2 separate regions of the Homo sapiens genome follow, and region 1 is linked to region 2. Evidence: promoter capture Hi-C in 16 types of primary human blood cells and fetal thymus (Javierre and others, 2016). All regions are on one chromosome and are shown on one strand. The core of a region is centred on a gene start or on the middle of the fragment in contact, and the rest is flanking DNA. Distances in the headings are between cores, read along the strand shown. Region 1 overlaps ACIN1 (apoptotic chromatin condensation inducer 1). Region 2 holds the start of PSME1 (proteasome activator subunit 1).

Region 1 (2,700 bases), core at 116-2,615, 1.1 Mb after region 2:
TGTTAGCCAGGATGGTCTCGATCTCCTGACGTCGTGATCCGCCTGCCTCGACCTCTCAAAGTGCTAGGATTACAGGCGTGAGCCACCGTGCCCGGCCGCCTAGTTGATCTTAATTCTGGTAGGAAATTTGGAAATCATCTAGTGCAGCCCCTCCTTTTTCTCAATCATGACATTTGAGACTCGGGCACAGTGGTTTATACCTTAATCTCAGCACTTTGGGAGGACCGGGGTGGGAGGATTACTTGAGCCCTGGAGGCTGAGGCTGCAGTGAGCCATGATCATGCCACTGCACTCCAGCCTGGGTGACAGAGTAAAACACTGTCTAAAAAGAAAGATATTGAGACCCAAATTACTTAAGTGATTTACCCAGTTACCTTCCTTCATGGAATTTGAGTGAAACTTTCTTTCCGTTTTACATGGATTTATTGTTCAGGATAACCTAGATTGGTGGTTTCCAAGCTTTTTAATAGAACTTTTTTTTTCCTTAAAAAAAAAAAAAATCTCACCTAGTCCGGGTGCGGTGACTCACGCCTGTAATTCCAGCACTTTGGGAGGCCAAGGCGGGGGGATTGCTTGAGCCCAGGAGTTCGAACCAGCCTAGGCAACATGATGAAACCCCGCCTCTGTAAAAAATACCGAAATTAGCCAGGTATGGTGGCGTGCGCCTGCAGTCCCAGCTGCCCGGTAGGCTGAAGCAGGAGAATCGCTTGAACCTGGGAGGCGGAGGTTGTGGTGAGCCTAGATCATGCCATTGCACTCCATCCTGGGCAACAAGAGCAAAACTCTGTCTCAAAAAAAAAAAAAGAAAAACATGTGAGCTCATGCCTGTAATCCCAGCACTTTGGGAGGCCAAGGCGGGCAGATCACTTGAGGTCAGGAGTTTGAGACCAGCCTGTCCAACAGGATGAAACCCCATATCTACTAAAAATACAAAAATTAGCCAGGCATGGTGGTGGGCACCTGTAATCCCAGCTACTCAGGAGGCTGAGGCATGAGACTGGTTTGAAGCCAGGGGGCAGAGGTCGCAGTGAGGCGAGATTGCACCACTGCATCCAGCCTGGGTGACAGAGTGAGACTCCATCTCAGAAAAAAAAAAAAAAAAAAAAAAAATATTGAGCTCTAATACATAAAACCTAATAGACAGGACCCAATTCTGAAACCCCATCCAGTTGGCTTGAAGTAATTTCAGGAACTTTAGGGCGCTGAAAAACATTCCTCTAAGTATTTATTTCTTGAGTTTGTTATTGTGCAAATTCATATATTTCATCATAATATTTTGGTTGAAATTAGAAAGTAGTAGTAATAGGCAATCCAAAAAAATGGATACAGAACATAATGAAGTCTTAAACTTTATTCAGAGTAAGAACACTTTGTAGAAATAAGTACACTTCATATTTGTACATCCCTGCTAGACAGTTTGAAGCCCCTGGAAATTATTTTACATTTATTTGAGTTATTTATAACATGTGAATTGGCTTCGAGGTGTTGAAAATATTCTAGACTTGCACACCAAGAATTACCAATAAGACCCTGACCTAGTTAGGGCTTTTTGTAGTCTTTTCTTTAGTGTAGAAGTCAAAGAAACCGATACAGATATGTCTTGATAGGCTCATATGCTATAATTGGTTGGATATTAGAAAGCCTGATTTTTAAAAAGCCATGAATGAGTCTTCACTTCATGAATCTGACTTGATTCTTTTTCATTCAATAGGAAAAAGCTCCTCAATTTCTGAAGAGAAAGGTGACTCTGATGATGAGAAACCAAGGAAAGGAGAAAGACGATCATCTAGGGTCAGACAGGTAACTCAGATACCTCCTAAAGCATTACCTCTTCAGTAATGCTTTGGATATCTTCTCTTCTTCAGACTTGTTTTGAGTTTGTATGTCTCTACATTTAGGGGTTTTGTTTTTCTTTTTTGGGACAGAGTCTGGCTCTGTCGCCTAGGCTGGAGTGCAGTGGCACAATCACAGCTTACTACAGCCTCGACCTCCTAGGCTTAAGCAGTCCTTCCACCTCAGCCTCCCAAAGGATTGGGATTACAGGCATGAGCCACTGCCTGGCCTCTAGATTTCTTTGTGGTTATCTTCCTTCTCCTCTTTGTCATCTTTTTGTTGTTCGTTTTGTCTTTTTATTTAGATCTGCTCTGCCTTTTAGATTTCTAAGTGAATATTTTTTAAAAGTTTAAATTTGAAAATTAGCAGGCTGCTCTGTATTCTTAAAGCACATTATTAGACAAGATATGACATAATTAACCATTCAATCAAAGCTTTAAAGTTATATAACACTAAGTGGGCAGAATACAAAAATGTTATGTGTAGTGTAATTATGACTGTACAAAGGAAATGATTAGAGGAAAGAACAAAAAGAAATATACCAAAATGATAAAAAGATAATCGTATTAATTGATAGTAGGTTAGTTCCTTTCAGCCCCCTATCCACCCTTTTACTTTCCAGATGTTCTGCTAATATTTTACTGAAAAAAAAAAAAAGGGGGTGCTTGAAGCTAAAATTTAAACTACATACAAGTAGCTTCATTGTGATATTTCTTTTGGTCACTTTGTTTTGATTCCCCTAAGGGCTACGTTAGTCATGATTGTCTCCTGTCACTCCTGTTTCTGTTGCTGAAAGTATATATCATTGAATTTCTCCTTCCTAGGGGTGTCTTCATTAGATACTTTCTCTCCTCTGTTGACTGTGAG
Region 2 (2,700 bases), core at 116-2,615:
TTCATCCTCCCCCTTCTTCTTTTCATCCTTGTCTTCCTTCTGCAGAAAGAGAGGAGCTCATGAGAGTCAGGACTAAGGTTGATTACCCCCATAGTTGGATCCCTTCTCCCAGGTCTTCCCAGCTTGCCTCCTGCTGTTTCTTCCGCTCCTCTTTCTCTTTCTCCTTGACTGGATCAGGCACTGGGATGTCCAATGGGGCCTTCAGATTGCTCAAGTTGGCTTCATTGAGAGCTGGCTCCTGGTGTAGGGTGGGAGGAGGGCTGGAGGTGAGGGAGTTCCTCTCACCTCACTCTCACAGCCTCCAGACTCTTCTCTTGGCCTTTACTCCCTAGCTCCCTGCCCAGCCGCGGTACCTTTAAAAATGCATCCAGCTCAGAAATCTTCTTGGGGAAATAGCTCCCGAGCAGGTTCTCTGTCTGTGTGTGAGGTGGGGGTGGAGGAGGATGGGAGTCAGCATCAAATGCCCGTCCTAGGTAGTGAGGCAGGGTTGAGCAGTAGGAGTTGGGCAGGGGTGGGGCCACGCTGATGGGGCATGTCTTACCTTGGTACAGAGGTCTTCACGAAACACATCCACCTGTGGGGCACACGCATCCCTTCAGAAACTTGGCTTTAAGGCCAGTTCATTTGAGGACAGTTCCCTTAGGGTTATGTAGGGCCTGACCTGGGGAAGGGTGGAGGGGATCCCTCTAAGGCCAGACCTGAAGAAAGCGAGATGGATGCCTGTAGGGTGGGTTGGGGTGGTGGAGAAGGTGGATCTCTGCAGACCTGGATCTACGGAAAGTGGAGTGGGTATCCCTGGGGCTGGATATGGGGGATGAGAACATTCCTGGCGGTGAAGGGCCAGTGTTCACGTGAGAACAGATCTCTGGGGTCGCCTGGCAGGTGTGAGGAGGGGTGCTGAGAGTCCTCTGCAAGTAGGACAGGGATGGGGTGGGCCCCGGGACCCTCCCTGAGGGAAAGGCCAGAAGGTAGCTGGGGCAGTCCCGCACCCAGTCTGTGTGTGGCCCCGGCCCCAGGCCAGCGGAGTTCCCCTCCACGCCAGCTCTCCGCTTCACCTCACCCCGCAGAACCACGGCCGCCTCGCCTCTCCCCGCAGGCAGCAGTCGCCGCCCTCCCCGGGGCGCAGGTGCTCCGGGCGCGCCAGCTCGGCCGACTGCCCCCGACTCGCGTGGGAGCCTGGGGGGCGGGTCGGGGATGCCCCCGGCCGCTCCAGCCACGCCTCCCCAGTGGGCCCTTTCTAGACCCCGCGGCGCTCACCTTGGCTTGGGCCTCGGGCTGGACCCTGAGCATGGCCATGACCGGGACGGGGGGCCTAGCGCCGCACAAGGAGTGGAGTGGGCACCGCGAAGGGAAAGCGAAAGCGGTAGGGCGCTCGCACCCAGCTCCGCCTTCCTGGGTAGTGGGGCGGGGAGGGCTGGAGGAGGCGGGGTCGGATGGAGGAGGCGGGGTCAGCCCTGCCATGGAAGGGGCGGTGCCGCAGAGGAGGGCGGCGGGTGAGGCTCCGCCTAGCGCGCACAGGCGCTCTTCACCCACCCTCCCCGCGCCGCCTCGCGAGGGCCAGCTTCCAGGCTCCCCACCTCCGCTGGCCCGGTCCCCGCCTCCCGCCTCCCGCCACCTGCCGCCCGCCGCCTGAGGACGGCGGGTCCGGGTCCTCCCATCGCCAAGCCCAAGCCAGTCTCTCCGCGTCCCAACCTCCACCTCCCGCCTCCCAACTGGCTCCCCACCTGCTCTCTTCTTCCCCTGCTCCGCCTGGGACAGATAAGCTTTACTTAGGGCTCTTCCGTCTTTCCCTAGAGATGGAATAAGACCTGGCCTGTCTTTCCTAGCCTTGCTAGCGTGGGCCTCTGGCTCTGCCGACATCCTGCGCACCTGTAGCAACACCGGCACCAGAGCTGGCAGCATCCCTATCCAAGCCCGGACCAACTCTCTCCTGGACCACGGCTGCAGATGCCATTCTATAACCCACTCTCACGGAGCAGCGGGTTCATGCCTCTCTCTGGCTTAAAACCCTTTCTCAGCTGCCTGTTGACCTTTGAATGAAATCCAAAAGGCTGTCGCACCTGTCTCCCCTTTAAGTCCACTTTCTACTGCTTGCCCCTTCATTCATTACACTTGCAAATATTTGGGCTATTTGTTTCTCAGATGTGTCATGTTCATTTCTGCCTCAGGGCCTTTGCCCTTGCTAATAATCCCTTTGCCTAAAACACCCTTACCCTGGGTGTTGTCATTCGGTTCTCAGTTTAGATGTCACCTCTTCAGAGAGAACTATTTTCATCATCCTTTATAAGGAACCTCCCTCCAAATCTATTACAAATCATCCTGTTTTAGTACATTCATAGCATTTATCTCTCTGATATTAGCCAGGTGTTTTTTTTTTTTTTTCCAGGATAATTTACTGATTTAAACCAGGTTTTGGCAAACGTGTGTGTGTGTGTGTGTGTGTGTGTGTGTGTTGGGGGACGGAGTCTCGCTCTGTCGCCCAGGGTGGAGTGCAGTGGCACCATCTAGGCTCACTGCAACCTCCACCTCCAGGGTTCAAGCGATTCTCCTGCTTCAGCCTACGGAGTAGCTAGGACTACAGGCGCGTCCCACCACGCCCGGCTAATTTTTTGTATTTTTAGTAGAGACGGGGTTTCACCATGTTAGCCAGGATGGACTCGATCTCCTGACCTCGTGATCCGCCCGCCTCGGCCTCCCAAA

The links. Contacts are between HindIII fragments. The CHiCAGO score rates a contact against its expected background, and 5 or more counts as called.
Region 1: a contact is called between a fragment that was not itself captured here and the fragment with the promoter of PSME1 in region 2, in 1 of 17 cell types (M0 macrophages). The highest score is 5.4, in M0 macrophages.

Annotation. Positions count from the first base shown.
Region 1 is chr14:23,080,848-23,083,547 of GRCh38, reverse strand. ACIN1 (apoptotic chromatin condensation inducer 1) reads left to right here. Exons shown (of 19, transcript NM_001386863.1): 5 at 1,712-1,800. It overlaps LOC124903288 (a long non-coding RNA gene), which reads right to left. Exons shown (of 2, transcript XR_007064077.1): 2 at 1,334-2,700. Among named protein-coding and RNA genes, the nearest start is that of ACIN1, 13 kb to the left of the region's middle. The HindIII fragment of the contact is 1,808 bases long and covers 462-2,269 here.
Region 2 is chr14:24,134,859-24,137,558 of GRCh38, reverse strand. It overlaps PSME1 (proteasome activator subunit 1), which reads right to left and starts at 1,365. Exons shown (of 11, transcript NM_006263.4): 1 at 1,258-1,365; 2 at 542-574; 3 at 354-416; 4 at 128-238; 5 at 1-39. The coding sequence starts at 1,296. RefSeq lists silencers at 1,032-1,321, 1,372-1,791. The HindIII fragment of the contact is 8,418 bases long and covers 1-1,765 here.